Regions from separate parts of the Homo sapiens genome. Here all the other regions are linked to region 1. The links are contacts of gene promoters, found by promoter capture Hi-C in blood cells and fetal thymus (Javierre and others, 2016). All regions are on one chromosome and are shown on one strand. The core of a region is centred on a gene start or on the middle of the fragment in contact, and the rest is flanking DNA. Distances in the headings are between cores, read along the strand shown.

Region 1 (3,885 bases), core at 828-3,327:
CCTAGTACATAATAAATACTTGATAATTGTTTCTAATTGACTTATTATGTTTAAAGATAAGCTCCACAAGGGCACGGATTTTGTGTGTGCATGTTTTTTTCCCCATACAACCCCCAGGGCCCAAAACAGTGCCTGGGATAAAGAACGTACTCAAGGAATGTTTCTGATAGTAAGCATCAAAAGCTTATAAAGATACTTGTTTAATACAATCAGCCCAAAAATTAAAATAGACTATAGAAAAAACATCCATCATGCTGTCCTCTCAGTGCCTTTACACATACTGTTGTCTCTGTCTGGAATGCCCTCTCCATACATCACACACTGTATCTTTTTTTTTTTTGCAAAGGGTCTCACTGTCACCCAGGCTGGAGTGCAGTGGCACCATCATAGCTCACTGCAGCTTTGACCCAGGCTCAAGCGATTCTCCAGCCTTAGCCCCCCGAGTAGGTGGGACTATAGGCTCTCGCCACCATGCCCAGCTAATTTTTGTATTTTTGGTAGAGACAGGGCTTCACCATGGTGCCCAGGCTGACCCTGAACTCCTGGGCTCAAGTGATCTGCTGGCCTCAGCCTCCCAAAGTGCGAGGATTACAGGCTTAAGCCACCACACCTGGCCACATCACACTGTATCTTAATTGACAGGTCATCTATTTGTCTTCCCCAAAAGACTACAGACTCTGGGTAAGTTAAAGGCCATAGGTATCTTAGTTACATGTACATGTTTTTACCCAGAATAAGTCAACAGCTTAGAACAATGTGTTTGTTAAAGACTGAGGCCACACAACACCTCCACAGACTCTAGTGTTTCCACACTTCTTCTTTTTTTTTTTTGCGACAGTACCTCTGTCACCCAGGCTGGAGTGCAGTGGCACGATCACCACTCACCACAGCCTCAACCTCCTGGGTTCAGGTAATCCTCCCACTTCAGCTTCCCGAGAAGCTGGGACTAGAGGTACCTGCCACCAGGCCTGGCTAATTTTTGCATTTTTTTGTAGAGACAGAGTTTCGCCGTGTTGCCAAGGCTGGTCCCAAACTCCTGGGCTCAGGCGATCCGTCCACCTCCATCTCCCAAAGTGATAGGATTACAGACGTGAGCCACCACGCCTGGCTATGTTTCCCACACATATGTTATTTGATCCATATCTTCACCATTCTCACTGTATTTGAATGTTCCTAACATTCCCTTAATATTTGTTTACAAGAAAAAATTTTATCCCTACTGTAAACTGAAAACCACTTATATTTGACATAACGTGAAATTAGACATAAAATTATATAAAATCTTTAAATGTTCTATTTTTAGCTAAATACAGGTGCCTATTAAAAGCTCTGAGACTAAGAACTGCTCTCTGAAAAGACCTGGGGATTAAAGAAGTGCTGAAGATACACACTAGCACCGAGCACAACTTCTCCTAAATGCGAAGTTGAGAACTGAAAGAGAAATGAAAAGGGAACAATTTCCCTAACACATTATCTGATGCTCCTTAATGTGGGGTCCATGTACCACCTACCACCTAAAAGCACCTTAAATACCAAAAGTCCATGTCCCAAGTTCTGAGAAACAGTAATTAATGAGACCCCACTTTACCCTCCTGGGAGCGAGACAGGGCCGGATTCTGGAGTTGAGACAAAACTGGATTTATATTTTTTTGCGGGGCAAAGAACTTAATTAACCTTTCTGTATCTCGTTTTCTGTAAAATGAGAAAAATGAGATCTCTCTCACAGGGTTGTTGTAGAAATAAGCGAGGCGTTTCATCTGCTGCCTGGGGCTTAAGTATACAATAAATATTAACAACTACCATTATTTCCCTTTCAAAACAACAACAAAAAAGAACGTGAAGCCAGACAGCAGAAATGAGTTGCGTGGGGTCTCAGGGTTCCCAGTACACACACCCGCCGGCTCACTCCCTCAGGACCCAATCTCCCGCCTTCCACGAACTCCTACTTTTCTCTCCTTGTCCCCGCAGATCCTCACCTTCCCGCTGCCCGCGGGGCCCATGACCAGCTGCGCATACCGAGGCATGTTGGCTCCCGGAGCCGCCCGCCACACTCCCTTAGCCTTCGCGCGACGCCCACTGAGCTCCGGGAAAGTGAAGTGCGAACCAATCGCAATCCACATTCTTTCTACGCCTCCAGTTCTACCACACCTCCTACTACGGGGCAGCCCGCGGGCCAAATCCCGTGAGAAACGCGTCCTGAGAAAAAAGGGGAGGGGCGAGGGAGAGGATTTGCGCGTGCGCAAAAGTAGTTGATGGAAATCGGCCGTTGGGATGCTGTCTAAGCTTGGATACCTGAGTAATAACGGACAACAGATAAAGCTCCGCATCCTTGCGCCACGTGCTTCGGTCCGTGGTTTGCGTGCAGACGTTTGACCTGTATGGTGACCCTCGCGATTTGCAAATGTGCTGAGGATCTGGAATACTGAAGTGGAAGGCACCTCTTGTTTTGGGGAGCATGTATATTTCCCTCCTGTGACGCACTGCTTCCACAGAGAGGTGCAAACGTGCAAACGCTCAGCGACCGCAGCGCTCCTGCCCCTCCCCCACCGTAACTCCGGGGTCGCGGATCTGCCCGCCCCGCTCTCCCGAAGCTGTTCGGGCAGTGTCCGAACGGCTTCGGAGGGGCGAGAAGCCAGCATCCGAGCCGCCTCTCCGGAATACCAGCAGCCTGACGCACGCGTGCTGTCGGGGGAGGGATGCTGGGACAGCTGCTCCCGCACACGGCTCGCGGTCTCGGCGCCGCGGAGATGCCCGGCCAGGGTCCGGGGTCCGACTGGACGGAGCGTAGCTCTTCTGCAGAGCCGCCCGCTGTGGCCGGGACCGAGGGTGGCGGCGGCGGGTGAGGTTGGGGGCCCCGGGGTAAGGGTGGCAGCATGGGGCCCCCGGGTCGTGAGGCCCCCGGGTCGTGAGCCCCGTGGAGGAGGGCTGCGGCCGACCTCTCGTCTCGGGGGCTGGCCCCGGTGCCCTCAAGTGAGAGGCGGGGAGCAGTTTTGTTGTGGACAGAGGGCAGAGGGGAGGACTGCCTCGCGGTTGAGGGAGGGTCTCTGAGGGAAGCTTCGGAGGAGCGTTTGGTGCAGTGGCCACGAGGTGACTGCGACAGTCGCCCGCGTGCATCTCTCTGCCCCGAGGGGGCGCTGCGAGCCCTGCTGGGACGTTTGCTGTCTGGCACAGGACTGTGTGTCCACCGAAAGGCGAGGCGGGAGGGACAGAGGAGGAAGATGTCCCCCGGTTCAACTGGGGGCATCCAGGCCCATAAACCAGTTCCTTCCCTCTAGTGACATGAGCCACCTTCCTGTCAAACGGGGATTTCTTTTTCTTTTTTTTTCTTTTCTTTCTTGTTTTTTGAGAGCGAGACAGTCTCGCTCTGTTGCCTAGGCTGGAATGCGGTGGTGCGATCTCAGCTCACTGCAACCTCAGCCTCCCAGGTTCAAGTGATTCTCCTGCCTCAGCCTCCCGAGTAGCTGGGATTACAGGCGCCTGCCACCACGCCCGGCTAATTTTTGTATTTTTAGTAGAGAGGTGGTTTCACCATGTTGGCTAGGCTTGTGTCGAACCCCTGACCTCAAGTGAGCCGCCCGCCTCGGCCTCCCAAATTGCTGGGATTACGGGGTGAACCATTGCGCCCGACCTCAAACGAGGATTTCTAATCGCCAATGAGACCAATGACTGAATATCCGAGGTGCCTTGATCTTGACATTTTCTTCACACTGAAGTTCCTTTTTTCACAAATCTATTTCGTTTTGAGCAGGTTTTTACACCTATTTCCTAGATAGTGAAGACAGCGAGCTGTTGAAGTCACTGCTGGAGACTCTACCTCCTCTTCCTCTCCCTACTTTATTCCCTAAAAGCAAGAACTGCGATATGTTTGCCGTTCAGTACAACCCG
Region 2 (3,885 bases), core at 603-3,102, 370 kb after region 1:
TCAAAGTATGCAAGAACTTTGAAAGAAACGTCTCACATCTCTCTCACCCTGTCTGACTGGTCTCCTGCTGGTCTCTGTCATTGGCCACATTCAACCAGAAGACAGAAGGTAAGGGAGACCTTGAGTGATGTGGATCACACTGTCCACTTCTTGAGACACACAGCAGGAAGAGAAGAGTGGCAAATGAATTGGACAGAAGATGGACTAGACGACGAAAAACAATATGTACATACCATGCATATGCTTAATAGATGTGGGTATTTTATTTTATTTTGTATTAAACATTTTTAAATAGAGATGGGGGTCTCATTATGTTGCCCAGGCTGGTCTCTAACTCCTGGACTCAAGCGATCTTCCCACCTTGACCTCCCAAAGTGCTAGGATTATAGGTGCGAGCCACTGCACCAGGCCAGGTGTGGTTATTTTTACGTTTTTCGATGCTCTAGAATGTCCCATGAGTAGATAAGCCATAATTTACTTTAAAAATCCTCCTCTTGGCCATGGCGTGGTGGCTCACACTTGTAATCCCAGCACTTTGGGAGGCGGAGGTGGGCAGATCACAAGGTCAGGAGATCGAGACCATCCTGGCTAACACAGTGAAACCCTGTCTCTACTAAAAATACAAAAAATTAGCTGGGCGTGGTGGTGGGCACCTGTAGTCCCAGCTACTCGGGAGGCTGAGACAGGAAAATGTCATGAACCCAGGAGGCGGAGGTTGCAGTGAACAGAGATAGCGCCGCTGCACTCCAGCCTGGGCGACAGAGCAAGACTCCATCTCGAAAAAAAAAAAAAATCCTCCTCTTGTTCATCTGTCTAGAAAACTTTTGTATCGGAGTACAATACACACATATAAAGGGGTCCATATCAGAAGTGTATGGCTGGATGAATTTTCACAAATGAATTGATTATGTAACCAGATCAAGAAACAGAATATCTGCAGCCCTGAAAGCCTCTTGATTTCCCTTCCAGTTATTTCTTCTCTATCCCCCTCTACCATATAACCTCTATTCTGACTTCTAAAGGCAAAGTTAGCTTCCCCTAATTTTGTGCTTTATATGAATGGCATTTTTCAGTATGAGCTCTTCTGGGCTTGGCTTTTTTCATTCCAAGTGTTTATTTTGTTGATTTTTACTTATTTCCACTTGCCTATGTAGAGATGATTTTACAATCGGCATCTTTGTATATATGGATTTTTTTTGCCTTTGGCTTATTTTCTTTTTCTTTTTAAAAAGTGCAATGCTGTTAATGTAACTTGAAAAATACCTCAGCATTCTAAACATACAAAATAAAGAAGATTCTTCTTCTTCTTCTTCTTCTTTTTTTTCGACATGGAGTCTCACTTTGTTGCCCAGGCTGGAGTGCAGTGGCAAGATCTTGGCTCACTGCAACCTCCCCCTCCTGGGTTCTAGTGATTCCCCTGCCCCAGCCTCCCGAGTAGCTGGGATTACAGGTGCCTGCCACAACGCCCGGCTAATTTTTTTTTGTATTTTTTTTTTTTTTTTTTTGAGACGGAGTCTAGCTCTGTTGCCCAGGCTGGAGTGCAGTGGTGGGATTTCGGCTCACTGCAAACTCTGCCTCCTGGGTTCACGCCATTCTCCTGCCTCAGCCTGGCTTTTTTTGTTTTTTTAGTAGAGGCGGGGTTTCACCTTGTTAGCCAGGATGGTCTCAATCTCGTGATCCGCCTGCCTCGGCCTCCCAAAGTGCTGGGATTACAGGCGTGAGCCACCATGCCCAGCCTTTGTTTGTATTTTTAGTAGAGATGGGGCTTGCCATGTTGGCCAGGCTGGTCTCGAACTCCTGACCTCAGGTGATCTTCCTACCTCAGCCTTCTAAAGTGCTGGGATTATAGGCATGAGCCGCTGCGCCCGGCCTGATTCTTGAACTTTCACTGATGGGTGGCTCTTTGTTTGCTGACAAGGAAGAGTTCTGTAGTTTGTTTAAAACAAAATTTAGGCCAGGTGCAGTGGCTCATGTCTATAATCCCAGCACTTCGGGAGGCCGAGGTGGGAGGATCATTTGAGGCCAGAGGTTCAAGACCAGCCTGGCCAACACAGACCCTGTCTCTGTTAAAAAAAAAAAAAAAAAAGCCAGGTGTGGTGTAGTTCCAGCTCCTCAGGAGGCTGAGGTGGGAGGATCACTTGAGGCTGGAAGGTCAAGGCTGCAGTAAGCTATGACTGCACCACTGGACTCCAGTGTAGGTAACAGAGGGAGACCCTTTCTCGAAAAGAAAAAAAAAGGCTGGGCATGGTGGCTCACGCCTGTAATCCCAGAACTTTTTTAGGAGGCCGAGGCGGGTGGATCACCTGAGGTCAGGAGTTTGAGGCCGGCCTGGCCAACATGGCGAAGCCCTGTCTCTACTTAAAAATACAAAAATTAGCCAGGCGTGGTTGTGGGCACCTGTAATCCCAGCTACTCAAGAGGCTGAGGTAGGAGAATCGCATGAACCCGGGAGGCGGAGGTTGGGGTGAGTTGAGACCGCACCATTGCACTCCAGCCTGGGCAACAAGAGCGAAACTCTGTCTCAAAAAAACAAAAAACAACCAAAAAACCCCCAAACACTTCTCATGCCAGCTGATCCCACTTTGTCCACAGCTAAGAATGGCAGCAGAATGCTATGTCACTCTATACAGAAACAAGACCACCTGAAGCTAAATAGATGCTCACCACGGAGTCAACAGGTCCTGTCTCACAGTGCACGCCCTGAGCTACCACTCCTCCGAAAGCCATCTTCCCCCACGGCCTCATTGCCAAGTGAGGAACATCAAGAGTTTGTCTTGGTTGTTTTGTTCTTTTTTACAAACTATGGATATGTACAGTTGATAACTCAGGATTTCTAGCCAATAACCGTATAGTTAACATCGTCTTAGAATTTAAAAAAATGTCAGAAACATCTTTAAATGCCTTGCCATACCATCAAAGGGCACAGAGAGAGGAGAACACAAGAGTGCCTTTGCATTTTAAAAATCTTTGACTTGGCCGGGCATGGTGGCTGATGCCTGTACTCCCAGGAGTTTGGGAGGCCAAGGCAGGTGGATCATGTGAGGTCAGAAGTTCGAGACCAGCCTAGCCAACATAGCAAAACCCCATCTCTATTAAAAAATGCAAAAATTATCTGGGTGTGGTGGCGCACACCTGTAGTCCCAGCTACTTGGGAGGCTGAGGCAGGAGAATCGCTTTAATCTGGGAGGTGGAGGTTGCAGTGAGCCGAGATAGTGCTACTGCACTCCAGCCTCAGCAACAGAGGGAGACTCTGTCTCAAAAAAAAAAAAAATCCCCAAGTTTGACTTATTTTCTTAGGATGAATCTCCACATTTAGGTTTCCTGGGTTGAAGAATATAAACATTTTTATAACTCTTGCTGTGTGAGGCCAAAATGTTTTCTGAAGAATCTACACCTGTGTCAGAAGTCTGTCACTGAGATAATGAGTGGCACTTATCTTATGGATTAGTACTGTTTTTACTTATTTTGTTTGTTTGTTTTTTGAGATGGAATCTCTCTCTGTTACCTAGGCTGGAGTGCAGTGGTATGATCTCAGCTCACTGCAACTTCCACTGCCCGGGTTCAAGTGATTCTCCTGCCTCAGCCTCCCAAGAAGCTAGGACTACAGGCACGCACCACCATACCCAGCTCATATTTGTATTTTTAGGAGAGATGGGGTTTCACCATGTTGGCCAGGCTGGTCTTGAACTCCTGACCTCAGGTGATCTGCCTGCCTTAGACTCCCAAAGTGCTGGGATTACAGGTGTGAGCCACCGTGCTCAGCCCTGTTTTTATTTTGAATGCCATGGGTGGGGTAAAATATTTCACAATCTTTGCAGACTTTAAAGTTCTCCATTTGGTCCTGGCAGTCTCAATAAATCAAGGCTCAGAGAAGTCTATTTGCTT
Region 3 (3,885 bases), core at 803-3,302, 350 kb before region 1:
ACTTTGTGAATATGCTAAAAGCCATTGAATTGTACACCTTTTTTTTTTTTTTTTTTTTTTTGAGGCGGAGTCTCACTCTGTTTCCCAGGCTTGAGTGCAGTGATGTGATCTCGGCTCACTGCAACCTCTGCCTCCTGGGCTCAAGCGATTCTCCTGTCTCAGCTTCTTGAGTATCTGGGATTACAGATGCCCACCACCATGTCTGGCTAATTTTTTTTTTTTTTTTTTTTTGTATTTTCAGTAGAGACGGGATTTCCGCATATTGGCCAGGGTGGTCTCGAACTCCTGGCCTCAGGTGATCTGCCCGCCTCAGCCTCCCAAAGTGCTGGGATTACAGGCGTGAGCCACCATGCCCAGCCTGAATTGTACACTTTAAATGGGTGAATTGTATGTATGTGAATTATATCTTAATAGAGCTGTTTCAAAAAGAGAGTAAGGAAGGAGTGGGAAGCTTTCAGAAAGGCTGTCACATATGGCTGGAACTTCCCTCCCTCTATTAAAAATGTCAAATATAGTTCAGCCAAAAGGCATTGTTGGGAGCTTACAGAGAAGACTCAACATAGCATCTAAGGAGGAAAAAAAAAGGCTTCACGGGTAGCTCAGCTGGGAGGAGATCAGCAATGCCTCTGTTGTTGTGAAATTGTTGCTGACAATTCCCTCTTAGACTCTTCAACGAATCCACCCAAGGTTTTATGTTAAATGAATCAGGCGGCTGGGCGCGGTGGCTCACACCTGTAATCCCAGCACTTTAGGGAGGCTGAGACAGGAGAATTGCTTGAGCCCAGGAGGCGGAGGCTGCAGTGAGCCGAGATTGCGCCATTGCACTCCAGCCTGGGTGACAAAGTGAGACTCCATCTCCAAACACAAACACACACACACACACACACACACACACACACACACACACACACACACACAGAATCAGGGGGTGGTAGCCAATCTTCCTTTGGCCTCGGGGACCCAATATATGCAGTTCTCTTTTTTACTGTAAGTCGGAACATAAATTTTTCAATATACAGATTCCAGGAAGCATGCTGACTGGCTTCAAGTTCTTCCCCGTGTTCCAGAGCAACCATATTAAGCATAAAATCTATTCAAGTTTGAGTCCAAAGAGTGGATCCTCTTGCTTATTTGAATTTATACAGGATTGCAGTCTCATAACTGAAAGGTATAGTGTTTGTAGACCAGGGGCAACAGAGAGAGGAGGAACTAAAAGCTATTAGATAAACCACTCCTATCTAGGATTTCTATAGCCTATACCCATAAACCCTATAGAAGGTGCAAATCTAACCATCTTTTTTTTTTCTTTTTTCTTTTCTTTACTTTTTCTTTTTTCTTTTCTTTTCTTTTTTTTTTTTTTTTTGAGACAGAGTCTCACTCTGTTGCCCAGGCTGGAGTGCAATGGCGTGATCTTCGCTCACTGCAACCTCTGCCTCCCAAGTTCAAGTGATTCTCCTGCCTCAGCCTCCCACGTAGCTGGGATTACAGGCATGCACCACCGCACCCAGTTAATTTTTGTATTTTTGATAGAGATGAGGTTTCACCTTGTTGGCCAGGCTGGTCTTGAACTCCTGACCTCAAGTGATCGGCCCATCTCAGCCTCCCAAAGTGCTGGGATTACAGGCATGAGCCATTGTGTCTGGCAAACCATCTTATTTTTAAAGTTTTATTCAAAAAATTCTTTTACTTCTTTTTTTTTTCTTTTTTCTTTTCTTTTTTTAAAGATGGGGTCTCACTGTTGCTCAGGCTGGACTTGAACTCCTGGGCTAAGACTGTCCTCCCACCTCAGCCTCCCAAAGTGCTGAGATTACAGGCATGAGCCACCATGTACATGCCTCATTTTTTTAAAAAGAAAAAACATAAATGTCTTCAGTGCCTCCCAATGTTGGGCACTGTTGTAATCACTTTACCTGTATCAACTCCCTTAATCCTCATGTCAACCCTATTGAGGAAGGTTTTATTATAGCCACGTTTTACAGATGAGGAAAGTTTAGCAAGATAAAGAGAGGGTACACAATGGCAGATGCAGAATTCAAACCCAGGTAGCCAGGGATGTCTCCTAACACACCCAACAGGATCAATGAATTATATAATCCCTTCTACAAATCTTGTATTGTTTCTGTCAGTATTATGTAAGTTATTTAATTCTTTGAGGTTTTGAGTGTTGCTTCCCCTAATTGGTTGTGGGGTGGGGCCAGTTTTAGTTTCTCTCCAGGAGCCCTGCAGGGTACCTACGCTTGATATTTCAACAGTCAGAGGGCAGCCAACAAAGGGACTGGTCTTGGAATGTTGTGTTGCCTCTGCCCAAAACACTCTCCCTTTTCCTGTTTGGCTAATTTTTACTGATCCTTTTTAAGAGATGGGGGTCTCCTTCTGTTGCCCAGCCTGGAGTGCAATGGTGCCACCCCTGACCAATTTTTGCTTTTAATTTTTTGTAGAGAAAGGGTCTTGCTCTGTTACCCAGGCTGATCCTGAACTCCTGGGCTCAAAGTTATCTTGTTGCCTTGGTCTCTCAAAGTGCTGAGATTACAGGCGTGAGCCACGGTGCCAGGCCTAATTTTTACTGATCCTTAAACATCACTCCATTTGACAGAAACTTTCCTGATGGTATGGCCCCTTTGGCACCACCCTCCCCAAATAAACTTGAGGCCCTTAATCTGGGCTCCTAATCATTGGCTTCTCTTGTTACAGCATTTATCTCAATTGTATTGGTGTTGCCCCTTTAATAATCTCTGCCGGCACTAGACTGTCAGCTCCATCAGGGCAGGGGCCAGGTAAGTCCTGCCCTTCTGCATTTCCAGCAGCCTGTACAGTACAGGGCATATAGGAAATGCCTAATACGTAATCTGTTATTTTTTGTTGTGGTAAGTCTGATGCTAAAGCTATAGTTGGTTTCTCCTATGCTGTTTGAGCAGGCAACTAAGTTTTCAAGGTATCAATAATTTGATTTTTTTTCCTTCTCTTTCTTTCATTGCCAGCTGATATCACTAAGTATCGTGGTCTCTAGTCTAATAGAGGTTGGTTCAAAATACCATTTGCCAACTAAGGTCTCCCACAAACCAGCTAGTGCAAATTCCAGTAGACTTTTAAACCTCATCAGTGACTGGGCACAAAGATCTCCCTGCGTCCTGCGTGGGATGTGAACTCCATGAAGACCACAAGGAGGATTTAATTTATTTCTGCAGTCACCTAAAGAGAGCCCACTCAGAAGCCAAAGGAACATTAGGACACTTAGTTCTCCCACACCCCCTTTCAGGCTCTCAGCATACTCAAAACGTATTGGGTTTAAAAAAATTTAATTCCCAGTACAGGCAATGTGGCCCAGTAATGTGACACAGAAGCTGAAATCTCTATGATGAATGTGTCTTCTTTTAATCCTGCCAGAGCCTCACTACAATTGTTCCTATGCATAACCTAATTTGGAGATACTTATGTCAAAAACCTAAATTTGAAGCACTGGCCAAATGCTTGCTCATCCCAACCCCCCTACCACCCAGCCCTGCCTCAAAAACAAACAAAAATCATCACCCACGTTTGGCGCATGAATGCATGCATGCATGCATGAATGAATGAATGAATGAAACATCACACGCATTTAACATAGGTTAATCATGCAGAGAGTATTTTGTAAACTGCGAAGTGCAGGACTTTCGGGAAGCTTATTGTAGCGCGTCTAGGTCGGAGTAACAGTCCCAAATGCCCTCGGCTGTCTGCAGTGGCTCAGCACGTGGGCCCGCTTTGCAAGTAAGCCCGGCTCCCGTCCGCCCCGTCCGCCCCGCCCCGTCCCGCCCCGTCCCGTCCGCTCCGCCCCGCCCCGCCCCGTCCGCTCCGCCCCGCGCCCGTCCTCCCCGCCCTGGCCCGGCCCCGCCCCCCAGCTCGTGCGCG
Region 4 (3,885 bases), core at 400-2,899, 270 kb after region 1:
AAAAAGAAAAGAAAAGAAAAAAGAACCCTTTAAGTTTCTCTGCAAAGTCACCAGCAGAAAGACTTCCATGTTCTGATTATCACAATTGTTTCCACACCCTGCCCTCTCCCATCCTGATTTTCCTAACAGATGGGGTTACACTTCAGGCATTGAGAAGTGACACCAAGGCAGGGAGCTGTGGTTCACGCTTGTAATCCCAGCACTTTGGGAGGCTGAGGTGGGAGGACTGCTTGTGGCCAGGAGTTAAAGAACAGCCTAGGCAACACCCCTGTCTTTAAGAAAAAAAGAAAAAGAAAAAAAAATTAGCCAGGTGTGGTGGTGTGTGCCTATAGATCCGGCTAGCCAAGAGGATGAGGAGGAAGAATCGCTTGAACCCAGGAGTTCAGGTCTCCAGCCTGGGGACAGAGTGAGACCCAGTCTCTAGTAAAAAAAATAAAAGTGACACCATTTTTTTCAAGGCAGATAGGATGTGGCTGCAAAACACTGTCTACTGTTCTCAATAAAGCATCTTGAGTTTTCTACACCTCGAGTAAAGCCAATCCATTAAAAACTTTAATTTTCACAGTCTAAGAACACATTTCGGTAATATACCACTGAGTAGACTACATTTTGAGTTTTCATTTGCTGTAAGCTTTACTGTCGGTGATGACCACTACCTTCTAGAAGAGGGATGACAGTAAACCCCAGTGAAGTGGGGAAGCTGGAGATTTCAGACAAATCACCAAGATCCACAAACACATCATCTGTTCTTGATGCTTTGGATACAGAGGTATGATCTTAAAATATCAAACTCTATCCTGGAATTCCATAAGCTCCATGGAAATGAAATCCTTCCTTCTTGGTCTTGAATGACTTTCCAGTTCTTTATCTACAAAGCGACTGACACCCAGAATATTATCTCCTTCATATTTTAATCTCTCAGGTCAACTAATGGCCTCAATTGTAAATTAAGTTAAATGGTGAAGTCCACATAACATCAATAATTTCCCTGCTTCACCATCAGGAATCCTCACCTAGTCAAGTGGGCTGACTGGTACTGTGATTCTGCACAACAGGTTACAGGTTGTAATAGGACTGTGCTTTCAAAGACATCAAATCACCTCACTAATTTCTACAGCTGACCACTGCTGGGCTACAACTGCATGTCCATTTGCCCAGTTATGAGGAGGAACACCCTAGGCTCAGAATGCAGAGCGCTCCTGTGTGTCACATCCCCCGCAAGCACAACGTCACACACAATTCTGTCAGATTTCACTGCTGCCTCCTGCTACTGACAGGCAAGAGGGCACTGCGGGCACAAGGAGAGTAATCCTTTTTCAATGCTGTGGTTTAAAAAAGGACTCCTGCAAGCTGCAGATCATCTGTCTCCAACAGAGCTTTCCCACCTTGCCTAGGAGGAGAGGAAGTGGGCATATGACCAACATACTGATGGGAAAGGAAGGGCAAGGGCTCACATCAGAGTTCTTATCAATGAGGGAATTAGAAACTGACAACTTGGATGTGAGTGTAAAAATTACCTGCTCTGTAAACAAATAATTACAGGCTGGGCACGGTGGCTCATGCCTGTAATCCCAGCACTTTGGGAGTCTGAGGCGGGCAGACCACTTGAGGTCACGAGTTCAAAACCAGCCTGGCCTCATCTCTACTAAAAATACAAAAACTTGGCCGAGCGTGGTGGTGCATGCCTGTTAATCCCAGCTACTCAGGGGGCTGAGACACCAAAATCGCTTGAACCCGGGAGGCAGAGGTTGCAGTGAGCCAGGATCCCACCACTGCACTCCAGCCTGGGTGACAGAGTGAGACTCTGTCTCCAAAATAAAATAAAAAAATAAATAATTACAGGTGTTCATTAGGAAAGATTACTTTTGTTTTTTTTTTTGGTTAGCATATTAAGAAACCTTCCCCTTTTTAAACCATTATGTTTGTCCTTTATTATCTTTAGGACCAGGGATGGCTAAACACCAGAATATGAACGTTTTATACTGCATCAAAAAGATGAACATATGGGTTATTTAAACAATCTTAGAGTTTCAGAATATCTGAACACTCCCTACCTTCAGAACAACCCTTATGTATCAGAGGATTAAATCTGTAAGCACTTTCTGTGAGCCAGGGCAGAGATCATATTTAAATCACTAAAACAAGTCAGGCAATTCTGCAGAGCCTGACATGGTCTTGCACTTTGACAATGGCCTTCTTCAAAGCAAAGATGCTTCTTGCAAACCAAGATGTGAAGTAAGTTACAACCACCTGCTATGCAAAAAAAATGCTAGCCACCATGGCTCCTTGAAGGAGGTCATTTACAAAGTAAAACTGCCCCAAATCTCACTTGTCTTCAATACATCAGACCAAATCAACAGCTGGCTTATTTTCTCTCAAAATGCCGTTTTACTGTGTAGTTATTTAAATAACTAACATCAGTTATACTAAGGAGTTAACAACCTTAAGTTTTATCATCAGCAAGGCAGAGCTTGGATAAAAGCATCCATGGTGGGTTGCAGAGGTGATGCCTCGCTTACAGAAATACTCAGAGTTCAGAGAAGAAAAGAACTGCAAAGGTTAGTGACTAAGATCTAAACCAACATGCTGTTTTTCTTAAGACTTCACTTTTCAGTTAGCTTTTTAGTACTATTACTCAGCTACTTCTCAACTAGGTTATACTGCTCGCAAGCTTAAAAGATCAATTCTAAACACGTAAAAAAATCTGGCCAAAGTCACAAGTCATATTCCCTCTACTTTCAGATATACTTACATCTTATTTAGGGAAAAAAAAGGTTTTGGGGGCATTATGAAAAGAATAAAATTTAGGCCGGGCACGGTGGCTCATGACTATAACCCCAGCACCTGGGGAGGACGAGGTGCGAGGACTGCTTGAAACCAGGAGTTTGAGAACAGCCTGGGCAACACAGTGAGACTCTCATTTCTATTTTAAATTATTAAATTTAATTTTTTTAAATAAAAAATTGTAAAACAGAATTTATTACCAACATCATTTAACTTAGATATCTACATATCCTCAATGGATCATCTTCAACTGTTTCTCTGCCAATTTAACACCCACGAGAAAAAAAGAAATTTAAGTATACTTTGCAGTTAGCCTATTCCCAAGGCATTAAAATGCACTGCTTTATTAATTTCAGCAAAAAATGAAATATAAGAAAACCTGGTTTTCAAGTGCCACATAACAAGAGGAACTATTAAGAAACAATGATCTCATTTTAGATGTATCATTACTTACCAGGCAAAGTACTTATTACAATTTTAAAGATCAAAATTAACAAAAGCTGTTTATGAATAGAGGCAGTTATGGGCAAACCAGAACTTAAATTAGCAAGCCTTAGATGATCTTAAAATTCTAATGTTTCTAATCCATGCAAATTCCAACTTTTCCTGTTTCCTCAGAGAAATAAAGCCACACATATCCCTGCAGAGATAAGCAGAATTTTAAAATTTAGAAAGAAAATATTTAACAAAAAGTTCCTTTCTTACAGCAAACTATTTTAATCAGTTTCTGACCAACTGCTGCCTCGAATAAATTAAAGAACTATATTAACTAGTATGAAAAAGTATGGTTCTTATATAAATACCTGGCATTAAAAGAATGACAAGGTTTTCACCTACAATACAAGGTTTTCACCTGCAATAACATTTCAAGAGCATTTCAGGGGTCCTTAATGACATTTAGTGTTTTTTTTGTTGTTTTTTTTTTAAAGACAGCATAAAAGGAAAGAATGCACAGATTAAGAAAAGGACGAGATATTTTCAGGAGCTTCATTTTAATAACTTACTTTAAAAGATCTGTAAATTCTAACACCAGAGCTGTCCAACTGTTCATGCCCTCGACTCCACCACTCACAGCATTTATAGTCCAACAATATTTTAGGA

Evidence for each region. Contacts are between HindIII fragments. The CHiCAGO score rates a contact against its expected background, and 5 or more counts as called.
Region 2: a fragment that was not itself captured here is called in contact with the fragment with the promoter of GPN3 in region 1 in 1 of 17 cell types (total B cells); the score reaches 6.2 in total B cells.
Region 3: a fragment that was not itself captured here is called in contact with the fragment with the promoter of GPN3 in region 1 in 3 of 17 cell types (fetal thymus, non-activated CD4 T cells and naive CD4 T cells); the score reaches 8.3 in fetal thymus.
Region 4: a contact is called between a fragment that was not itself captured here and the fragment with the promoter of GPN3 in region 1, in 6 of 17 cell types (fetal thymus, activated CD4 T cells, total B cells and 3 more). The highest score is 12.9, in fetal thymus.

What each region holds. Positions count from the first base shown.
Region 1 is chr12:110,466,180-110,470,064 of GRCh38, forward strand. GPN3 (GPN-loop GTPase 3) reads right to left here and starts at 2,078. Exons shown (of 8, transcript NM_016301.4): 1 at 1,977-2,078. The coding sequence starts at 2,024. FAM216A (family with sequence similarity 216 member A) reads left to right here and starts at 2,666. Exons shown (of 7, transcript NM_013300.3): 1 at 2,666-2,839. The coding sequence starts at 2,697. RefSeq lists enhancers at 2,190-2,319, 3,240-3,409 and a silencer at 2,730-3,039. The HindIII fragment of the contact is 2,100 bases long and covers 182-2,281 here.
Region 2 is chr12:110,836,843-110,840,727 of GRCh38, forward strand. No RefSeq gene overlaps it. Among named protein-coding and RNA genes, the nearest start is that of CCDC63, 8.2 kb to the right of the region's middle. The HindIII fragment of the contact is 6,129 bases long and covers 1-3,885 here.
Region 3 is chr12:110,120,414-110,124,298 of GRCh38, forward strand. No RefSeq gene overlaps it. Among named protein-coding and RNA genes, the nearest start is that of IFT81, 2.0 kb to the right of the region's middle. RefSeq lists a silencer at 3,758-3,885. The HindIII fragment of the contact is 3,207 bases long and covers 450-3,656 here.
Region 4 is chr12:110,737,497-110,741,381 of GRCh38, forward strand. The region is part of intron 1 of PPP1CC (protein phosphatase 1 catalytic subunit gamma); the gene reads right to left. Among named protein-coding and RNA genes, the nearest start is that of PPP1CC, 3.5 kb to the right of the region's middle. The HindIII fragment of the contact is 2,040 bases long and covers 630-2,669 here.